Regions from separate parts of the Homo sapiens genome. Here all the other regions are linked to region 1. The links are contacts of gene promoters, found by promoter capture Hi-C in human tissues and cell types (Jung and others, 2019). All regions are on one chromosome and are shown on one strand. Each heading gives the region's core, a stretch centred on a gene start or on the middle of the fragment in contact. The rest is flanking DNA. Distances are from core to core; before and after follow the strand shown. Region 1 holds the start of AFF3 (ALF transcription elongation factor 3). Region 2 overlaps AFF3 (ALF transcription elongation factor 3). Region 3 overlaps AFF3 (ALF transcription elongation factor 3).

The links. The method cuts DNA at HindIII sites, captures the fragments that hold promoters and counts their contacts. A contact is called where the count stands out against the background at its distance.
Region 2: a fragment that was not itself captured here is called in contact with the fragment with the promoter of AFF3 in region 1 in 1 of the 25 tissues and cell types used here (mesenchymal stem cells).
Region 3: a fragment that was not itself captured here is called in contact with the fragment with the promoter of AFF3 in region 1 in 1 of the 25 tissues and cell types used here (IMR-90 fibroblasts).

The regions. Positions count from the first base shown.
Region 1 is chr2:100,141,252-100,144,661 of GRCh38, forward strand. AFF3 (ALF transcription elongation factor 3) reads right to left here and starts at 1,339. Exons shown (of 25, transcript NM_001386135.1): 1 at 1,233-1,339. The HindIII fragment of the contact is 13,656 bases long and covers 1-3,410 here.
Region 2 is chr2:99,738,796-99,742,183 of GRCh38, forward strand. All of the region lies in intron 10 of AFF3 (ALF transcription elongation factor 3), which reads right to left. Among named protein-coding and RNA genes, the nearest start is that of REV1, 250 kb to the left of the region's middle. The HindIII fragment of the contact is 5,333 bases long and covers 1-3,388 here.
Region 3 is chr2:99,708,981-99,712,746 of GRCh38, forward strand. The region is part of intron 11 of AFF3 (ALF transcription elongation factor 3); the gene reads right to left. Among named protein-coding and RNA genes, the nearest start is that of REV1, 220 kb to the left of the region's middle. The HindIII fragment of the contact is 7,042 bases long and covers 1-3,766 here.

The sequences.
Region 1 (3,410 bases), core at 89-2,588:
AAATGCAAATCAAATATACATATGCATAACACCACTAAACACTAAGTGCAGTTACGCCTAGAACAAGGGAATAGCAGTTGACAGAAACACAACCAAAACTAAGAATATTAAATGTCTGTATTACTTTCACTGTAATCACTTCACTTCAACAGTGAGATGGGATAGCCCTAGGTAAAGGAAGGTGCTCTTGTAGTTAGAACATTCTTAAATTTTGCACCAAGGAACACATGCTTTTAATAATGGCAGAGACAACATTTTTTGATGGATTATTTAGTTTGTACGATCAACATTCAAAGAATGAGTTTACCACCACTTTGTTATTGTAAACACTTGACCTTTAGCTACCTGAATGATCCCCTCTTTGAATAAAAGGAATTATGAAACACATGTGTAGACATATTTCATTTTTATATATGTGAGACTCGAATAGCAAGGAAATCACATATTAGGAAAAAAACCCCTTTGTCTTGCTATTAGTTCTCTTTGGTTTCAAAAATCTGGTCACTGTGTATATTGCATTATATCATATGTGTGTGTACATATATATACACACATAAACACACATACACACAATGTCATGTGTATAAATACATGATGTGTTTATGCACATACACAGACACACACACACAAATACACACATATACAATGTTCCATCCAAGAAATACAAATATAGTGCTGTTAGCCCCTAACAGTGAGGAGGTCATTATTCCAAGTCATTTCTGCAGAAGTGACGGTGGCCTTAGGTGGAACTGCCCATGATCTCTCCTTGCAAGCTCACTCACTGGGGCCATTGACTGGGATCCAGTCTGTGGCCATGTCATGGTTTCTATTTTTGAGGTTATAGCTAATGAGCAACATGAGGTTAAGACACACTTTTCATAAGGCCCCAGCCAGCATCATAAATATGTGTGTGAGCATGTTCACACTCAGGTTATGTCTTCTTTATGTGCACCCTCTACCACACACACACACACACATGCACACGCACACACACTGACGGCTTCAGTGACCAACTTTGGTCACATCCCATCTCTTCCTTCTCAATCCCTCTGGCTGTTCACCAGGGCCTGGACCATCTCGGTGAGGCTGACCAAGAATGCTCCCCCTGCCCTGACCAGCGGAGCATGGGCACAGCTACTTAGAGCGCCACCCTTCAGGACACAAAGTCGGGGCTACCTCTCTTCCAGGCAAGGCATCCTAGAGGGCCCGCACACCCTCCAGTTTGATCTTACCTCTCAGCTCCCGTTCCTTTTCTTTCTCTCCCCAGTAAGTCGTTGAACGTCTTTCTTCTGAGGCTGAGCGTGGAGCTCTCTTCTCGCTGGCGAGCTTTCTGAATGGCACTTTCTGTACAAACAGGAAGAGCATGTGTGGTCACAACCCAAGTGTGCAGGTGTTGATAGAGGATGTGAAAGTGTGGAGGCGAGTGACTAAACCAGATACCCAACCGGCCAACTCTCACTTGTGGCAGGGCCTGGTCTACCAGAAGGCTGGAAGCAGGAACCTGGACTCTACTCTGGGGAGACCAACTGACAAAAGCAGAGGATGGTGGCCCTGGAGGCCAAGGGAGAAGGTCTCTTTGACTCCTGTGCTTTCTAACCCTATGCAGACCCATAAAAGAATCCCAGGAACATTTTGGAATCTCTTAGATATATGATTATCAAGAATGTTGATTTCAATGGGCTGCTTAACTTGTCCAAAGCTCTGCTGGTTTCCCAGGCTGTCTGGGCCTCCAAGAGATCAGGACCAAAGGCTCATCCTGCATTGGAACTGTGACAAGTCTTCCAGACCTTTCTAGAACAAAGCTACACCAGGAAAGAAGAGTCTTAGGCAAGGAATCAGATGTCCTAAGGCTGCTCTACATGACCTACATGATGGGTGTTACCTCCTCATCTCCCATTCAGTCAACCCACGGGCACTGGACTTCCTGCCCGACACCCTTCCCTCTCCCCATTCATGCCTGGAATTATTTTCACTAATGACACCAGGGATTCACTAATGGATGCTTTTTCAGTTCCTGTCCTATTTGTCTCCACTGGCAGTGTTTGACTTCCCTGTAGTGTTGACCATTTCTTTCCTCCCAGAACTTCTGCCTGGGCCGCCATGACTCCATACTCTCCTGGTTTTTGTCAGGCGGTCTCTCACACTGGCAGGCTTCCATTCTTTGGTCTTAATTTTCGCCCTCCTGCAAGCTCCACTCTCCGCCTCATGGTTCCTGTTCTCCATGGGTGGCCTCTTCCCAGCTCCAGATGGAACTTGCCAAGCCCACATCCATAGCATCACACATTTCTGCTGTTCTCCTGGAACATCCCCCAGCACCTCCCGTCAGACTCGCCACAATGAAACCCTGCTCTGTCCTCTACCCCACTCATTACTTACCATGTGGCCTGTGAATTCCCTCCTGCCTTGTCCCAGCTTGCTCCTCAGGTCTCTACCCCCTTCTGAGTTTACCACCTTCTGATCTCTCACTTTGCCTCTGCTAATCTGGCTTCTTCAGGTTTGACCCTCCATTATCCTCATCCAAACAGGCCCGTCCTTATCCTGAGAATGGATACCTAGAAACTTCCCCACCCAGTCCTATCCCAAGCCCTGGGAAATTATCCCAGTATTGTCTGCCTCATGTCCCTGGCAAGGAGAAAACGTTTCTTTATCTTATACCCAAACCAGAAATGGGGAGGCTTCCCACGTTCTTCTCTTTGCTGAATACTCTTCAACCTTCCATCACCAAGCCCTGCCCATTCTACCTCTTCAGTCACTCCTCAGATCCTTCTTCCCGTCCGCATCTCCACAGCCACACCCTCCCTCCATTGCCTCTCATCACTGCCCTAATCCCCAAGGGGTACGTGCACCCAGGGCACACCAGACCGTTCACTGAAGGATGAGAAGAAAGGAATTGAATGTCTATCTACCCACACTTGTCTGGTTTTTGTATTTAATTAAGACTCACATACCATAAAATGAGCCGTTTTAAGATGGGGAATCCTGTGGCATTGAGTACACTCACAATGCTGTGCAGCCACCACCTCCATCGAGTTCCCAGACTTACATCTATTTTTACGTCATGTTTTTAGTGTTTACATTTTGTGTATGTTTCAAGGCATGCAATGTGTGAATACAGTTGTATTGTATATCATTTGTGAATAATCATACATCTGCTCAGAATAGGCGGCAAAGACTTTTTTGCTGAAGAAGATACAAAATTAGAAAAGTGGGGACACGTGACCTCCTAACTCATCTCTCACATGTCAGGCTCTAGAGTGTTTTCCAAACTGCCTCCAAATTTTCTCTGCAAAAGACTACAAAAATGATGACAGTACACTCCCCTCACCCCACGACCAGTCCTTAAACGCTTCAATGGCTCCCTGTCACCCACAGGAAAATCCCAAGGCTCCATCGCTGGGCAGGCGAGATGT
Region 2 (3,388 bases), core at 543-3,042, 400 kb before region 1:
GCAAGCTGTAAGCCCAAGCCCTTCCTCCACCCACTCCTCTAAGAAAAATATAAAGCACTGTACTTTAGGTGTATAGAATTTTTGTTTATTTCCCTTGAGAAATAGTTGACTCTTCTGCCATTACTCCATGTCATCTATTTTTAAGGTCTGGTACTATCTTAGAATGTATTCTGTTTCTCTCTTTGGTATTAGTTCTCAGTGAGGAGTGAACTGTTCAATTTTTTTTTTTTTTAGCAAATATTATGGTACTTTTTGTTTTTGGGGGTTTTTGAGAAAAAATCATCCTGAAAGCTCTGTGTGGGAATCCGTGAGGATGGGGGTGGAGGGGTAATGGTTGAAGGATGGCCAGGTGTTCCCATCACTGCAAGCAATTCGCACTTGTTCTCTCTTGGGGTCCAGTGGAAATGTGGTCTTTCCTGGGGCTCCTGGGGGCTGTTCCCACCACCACTAAAACTTGTTCCTGTCTGATTCTTCCTTTGCTGTGTCACGACCTTCCCTGTTCAGGGGTATTTTTCAGTAGGGTTTTATTACTTTCGGCTTTCCAGAACACAACTAAATTTCTGGTTTGCTGATGGCACTTATTCTGATGGTGCTATTTTGGATTTATTTCCATTTCTACAGCTTCATGGCTATTAGGTGGGGATTCTGAAGGAAGGGGAAGGATTGCTTAAATGCAGTCACTCAACTGAACAGGACGTTCTCATAATTTTTAAAAATGTAGACATAAATCATCCATGTTAATATTCAAGTATCTCAATGCTTAATAAGCTTCCATTTTATAATATCAAGTTCAATTGATCAGTAATTCAGCAAACGATCTACCTTTTAAAAGATTTGTATTGAAAGTCATTTTCTGTTTATACAATCTTTCCTTTAGTATCTATAATACAGTCTTTCTCACTTCAAAGAGAATAGAAGCACTGGCCTAAAATAATGAGTTAGTAATCAATCCACACAGATATTTTGTTTTTGGTTTCTCTGAAGCTCAGTATTTCTCTATTTCTTTTTTTTAATTTTTATTTTATTATTATTATACTTTAAGTTTTAGGGTACATGTGCACAATGTGCAGGTTAGTTACATATGTATACATGTGCCATGCTGGTGTGCTGCACCCATTAACTCATCATTTAACATTAGGTATATCTCCTAAAGCTATCCCTCCCCCCTCCCCCCACCCCACAACAGTCCCCAGAGTGTAATGTTCCCCTTCCTGTGTCCATGTGTTCTCATTGTTCAATTCCCATCTATGAGTGAGAATATGCGGTGTTTGGTTTTTTGTTCTTGCGATAGTTTACTGAGAATGATGAGTTCCAATTTCATCTATGTCCCTACAAAGGACGTGAACTCATCATTTTTTATGGCTGCATAGTATTCCATGGTGTATATGTGCCACATTTTCTTAATCCAGTCTGTCATTGTTGGACATTTGGGTTGGTTCCAAGTCTTTGCTATTGTGAATAGTGCCGCAATAAACATACGTGTGCATGTGTCTTTATAGCAGCATGATTTATAGTCCTTTGGGTATATACCCAGTAATGGGATGGCTGCGTCAAATGGTATTTCTAGTTCTAGATCCCTGAGGAATCGCCACACCGACTTCCACAATGGTTGAACTAGTTTACAGTCCCACCAACAGTGTAAAAGTGTTCCTATTTCTCCACATCCTCTCCAGCACCTGTTGTTTCCTGACTTTTTAATGATTGCCATTCTAACTGGTGTGAGATGGTATCTCATTGTGGTTTTGATTTGCATTTCTCTGATGGCCAGTGATGGTGAGCATTTTTTCATGTGTTTTTTGGCTGCATAAATGTCTTCTTTTGAGAAGTGTCTGTTCATGTCCTTTGCTCACTTTTTGATGGGGTTGTTTGTTTTTTTTCTTGTAAATTTGTTTGAGTTCATTGTAGGTTCTGGATATTAGCCCTTTGTCAGATGAGTAGGTTGTGAAAATTTTCTCCCATTTTGTAGGTTGCCTGTTCACTCTGATGGTAGTTTCTTTTGCTGTGCAGAAGCTCTTTAGTTTAATTAGATGCCATTTGTCAATTTTGGCTTTTGTTGCCATTTTGACATGAAGTCCTTGCCAATGCCTATGTCCTGAATAGTAATGCCTAGGTTTTCTTCTAGGGTTTTTATGGTTTTAGGTCTAACGTTTAAGTCTTTAATCCATCTTGAATTAATTTTTGTATAAGGTGTAAGGAAGGCATCCAGTTTCAGCTTTCTACATATGGTTAGCCAGTTTTCCCAGCACCATTTATTAAATAGGGAATCCTTTCCCCATTGCTTGTTTTTCTCAGGTTTGTCAAAGATCAGATAGTTGTAGACATGCGGCGTTATTTCTGGAAGCATTCCCTTTGAAAACTGGCACAAGACAGGGATGCCCTCTCTCATCACTCCTATTCAACATAGTGTTGGAAGTTCTGGCCAGGGCAATTAGGCAGGAGAAGGAAACAAAGGGTATTCAATTAGGAAAAGAGGAAGTCAAATTGTCTCTGTTTGCAGATGACATGATTGTATATCTAGAAAACCCCATTGTCTCAGCCCAAAATCTCCTTAAGCTGAGAGGCAACTTCAGCAAAGTCTCAGGATACAAAATCAACGTACAAAAATCACAAGCATTCTTATACACCAACAACAGACAAACAGAGAGCCAAATCATGAGTGAACTCCCATTCACAATTGCTTGAAAGAGAATAAAATACCTAGGAATCCAACTTACAAGGGACGTGAAGGACCTCTTCAAGGAGAACTACAAGCCACTGCTCAATGAAATAAAAGAAGATACAAACAAACGGAAGAACATTCCATGCTCATGGGTAGGAAGAATCAATATCATGAAAATGGCCATACTGCCCAAGGTAATTTACAGATTCAATGCCATCCCCATCAAGCTACCAATGACTTTCTTCACAGAATTGGAAAAAACTACTTTAAAGTTCATATGGAACCAAAAAAGAGCCCGCATCGCCAAGTCAATCCTAAGCCAAAAGAACAAAGCTGTAGGCATCACACTACCTGACTTCAAACTATACTACAAGGCTACAGTAACCAAAACAGCATGGTACTGGTACCAAAACAGAGTATTTCTCCATTTCTTACATGTTTACTGGAATCATGATTCCTAACCATATACAAAAACAGCAAGGGAAATGCTGGTGGGGTCAGTTCTCCTAAAGTTTCAAATGTGCTGTAAATTGCAGAGAATTCTCAGACTTAATAGGAATATTATTTTTGTATACATGTGCTGGGGTTTTGGAGAAAGATTTATTTAAAAATGAAAAAAGGCCAGGTGTGGTGGCTCACACCTATAATCTCAGCACTTTTGGAGGCCAAGGCAAGAGGACCGCTTGAGGCCAGGAGTTCAAGACCAGCCTGTGCAACATAGTGAAATGC
Region 3 (3,766 bases), core at 554-3,053, 430 kb before region 1:
AAGAATAATACAAGATAGGTGAAGAAGGAAGAGAAACAGAAGGGGGTAAAGGGAGAAAGTACCAGAAGGAGAAACAAAATAATCACACAGAGGTGTGAGAAAAAGTATGGGCTCTAGGCGGGTGCAGAGTCAGGTGCTCTAGCACCTGTTTGTGAACCCAGCTACTCAGGAGGCTGAGCAGGGAGGATCACTTAAGCCCAGGAGTTCAAGGCCAGCCCAGGCAAATAGGGAGATCTCTTTTTTGAAAAAAGTATGAGTTCAGGAGTCAAACTGGGTTCAAACCCTAGCTCTGTCACAAACTAGCTGTGTGAGGCTGGTCCAGTTTCCTAACCTTTCTGTGCACATATTCCTTATCTGAAAATGGGGATAACCACCCCAGAGAGCCGTAAGAGTATGAGACAAGCACTCAGAACAGTGCCAAGAACACAGTAAATGCTCAGTAAGTTTTAGGGGTGAAGATCACGTGATCTAGCCCAAACTATCAATAGAAAGATAAAACTCACCAAGTCAGAGAATGTCTCCACTTTGATAACTGGGTCATGAGAGAAAAGATTTTTCTCTTGCAGTCAAATGGGTATTTTAAAAAAATTATAAATAGCAATATTTTATGTATTTACTCATTAAAAAGAAACTTCTCTTTATTTTCAGAGGATACAACTTCCAAGGTTGTGTGAAATTAGCATGATACTACTGTTCCAAGAAGTGAAGCTATATGGTTATCAGTTCTATCCAACTACTGGTTATTCTTGTTTCACCCTACTTATTATTCTATTTACTCCCAGAAACTCCACAAGCAAATAAATGACACTCTTTCTCATCCCTACCCCCAAAGCCAATTAATCGAACTTGATCGTCTAGCTTTACTGTTAAGCAGATTTTCAAATGAAATAGTCCCAAATCACTGGGTTTCCAGCCATCTGGAAACCACTTTGAACTTCATTTGTTTATCCATGTTTTTAATGCAGCTCAGGTGTCTGTAGTCTGAGGCAGTGAGGAAAACAAGTGCTTCTGAGTCAAACACCTCTGGGGTAAAATCCTGGCTTGGCCATGCTGCCTACCTGGGTGAGCTCTCTCTGCCTTGGTTTCTTATCTATACAATGGGATATTCTAATGTTGTCTCCTTTCTGAGTTGCTATAAAGATTCGAAGAGCTGATTCATGTATAGGGTGATCCTATGTTTCAGCTTACACTTATTGTCCCTGCAGAATTGTTACACTATTACCCTTATTTTTATAAAGTATTTAATACAGAGCCTGGCACACAGTATTCAGTATTTGTTTTTTGTTTCTTTTTTTGAGACAGAGTCTCTATTGTCCAGGCTGGAGTGCAGTGTTGCGATCTTGGGTCATTGCAACCTCTGCTTCCCCAGTTCAAGGGATTATCATGCCTCAGCTTCTTCCCAAGTAGCTGGGATTACAGGCGTGCGCTACCATGCCCGACTAATTTTTGTATTTTTAGTAGAGATGGGGTTTCACCATGTTGGTAAAGTTGGTCTCGAACTCCTGACCTCAAGTGATCAGCCTTCCAAAGTGTTGGTATTACAGGTGTGAGGCACTGTGCCTGGCCAGTATTCAGTATTTGTTACCTCTTAATCATGATATACCAACACCTGCAGTATTCTAACTAAATCCTTGAAATCCCATGGAATCCTTATTTTTAAAGCAAGAATAGCCTTTTTTGACACAAAAAGGTGAGTGCCTGCCTGAATGTGAAAGTTTGGTCACCTGCCCATTATCTCCACATTCCCTGTCCCTTTGGATATTTCAGTCATTTAAGAAGTTAAAAGTGGGGGTGGAATTCTCTGCGGTAGAACCTTGGAGGCAGAGGCTAACATATTTTACATGCTTTGGCAGGATCATGTGAGCACAGCTTTACTAAAATACACTCTGCCAACAGCAGAAGGCCCTCTGAGGTGAGCAGGTGGGACGAGGCTGGGAAGCTGTCACTTGACTTCTGCCAGCTACTCGGAATGTCAGATGAATCCCAGACTGCAGCCCCTGCGGTTTCCAAGGCCCCCATCACTGCACAGAAATACCAGGCTCACTCAGCGACAGGAGCCAGGCTTCCTCCTGTCGCTCCTCCCCAGCCTCCTCACAGCCTCAAGATGCAATTCTCTTGACAGTAGGGAGGGAGGGCAGATATTAAGGGCTTTTAGGGAAATACCAGCCCTTTCTTCAGAAATGGGGTTTCTTCCTTAACATCTCTCCCGTTTCATGTGCCCTCTGTGCCAGGCCGCGTGTGGTGTCTCCAAGAGGATCTGGAGCAGGCGGACCCAGTCGGAATCTTGGCTCTGCGGCTCATGACTGCAAACCCCTCCAGGAGCCAACTCACTTCTCTGAGACCTCGTTTTTCTCTTCTGTAATATGAGATGTAATAATGTAATAATACATCTCATTGGATTGTTATGAGGATTAAATGAGACAACATGTCCAGTAGACTGCCTGGTACAAAATAGGCATCTAAGGCATGCCAAGTATCTTTATGGTCCCAGGCTGCCTGAGAAGGGGTCAGCATTAGAGGCATGCGGGTGCAAAGAGAACCTGCGATCTAGGGGTGGAAGGTGGGCGGGCTTCAGTGTGCAAATATGCAAGCTTGGCATTTAGGAGGTTTTACATCTCAACTAGAATCCAAGGAAGAGGGAGAACAAATCCAGCTGATGGTATTTCTGAAAGAAGACGCACAGCGAATGTATGTGTTCCAGCCATCCTTTGTAGTATCCTGCATTCCTTCATTTATTCATACTGTACTTGCTTATTGAATAAGTACTATGTTCTCAATGCTAGAAACACTTCAACACAAGAGCATGAAGATTCATTAAAGATAACATTGGGAGGAAGCACAGGCAGTCTGTTAATGTCAGGCAATATTTATTGATTGCTTGCTGCAGTCAATAAATATGGTAATACCAGCCACAATCTCCCACAGCCCGGGCGACTCCTCAGAAAAACGTTGGCACCTGTTAAAGCCACAGTGAGTATGGAGTAGCTGAAGTTTCTTAACTCATGTCTCTGTGGACTGAAGAGCTCATTGCAAAAGGGCCAAACTCGCTTCCAGAGACTGTTCCCCACCTTAATCATAACTGAAGTAAACCATTGCTTATGTGGTCTAACTGGAGTCACTGAAAACTTCCCTTCTCCCATGACATATATTCCAAATGCCTACTTGTTGAACCTATGAATGGGTCCTAAAATATTCTGGGTTGTCAGTTCTTTGGGTTAAAACTTTCCTAGGTCCTACTGGAATGCTCTTGGGTTCTCCAAGGGGAATACTTCAGGGAGCCATATATTCTAGTCGCCTCTTGGCAGCGTGCACCAGAGGAAAGGCCTGTGTAGGAAGACACTCACTGGCTGAGCTCTTTCAGCCTCAGTTTCCTCATCTGTAAATTGAGGAAAGACGAGCCCAGCTTTCAGAGCTACTGGGAAGACTGAAGAGATCATTTACACAAAGTGACTAGGCCAGGGCTAGAAACATGGCAGGGGCCCAGTGCATGCCATTTCCTTCTCCTTCCTCACTCCTTTGGCACAAAGCATCTCAGAAGTTGGTCAGTAACCTCTACTGTGTTTTGTGAACAGGGGCTGACAAAAGTGAACATGTGCAATTGTGACCTGCATTTAAAAAGATGAGGAATAGAAAATGTCAGAGTAATGGTAGGTGATCTTTGCGACACTTTTGCTTCAGTACACACATTCACAAAGGATACGGTATAAAATGTACTTCTGACTGTGTAGGTTATAGTCATAAAGTTTTGAGGTGGGTATATACCCCC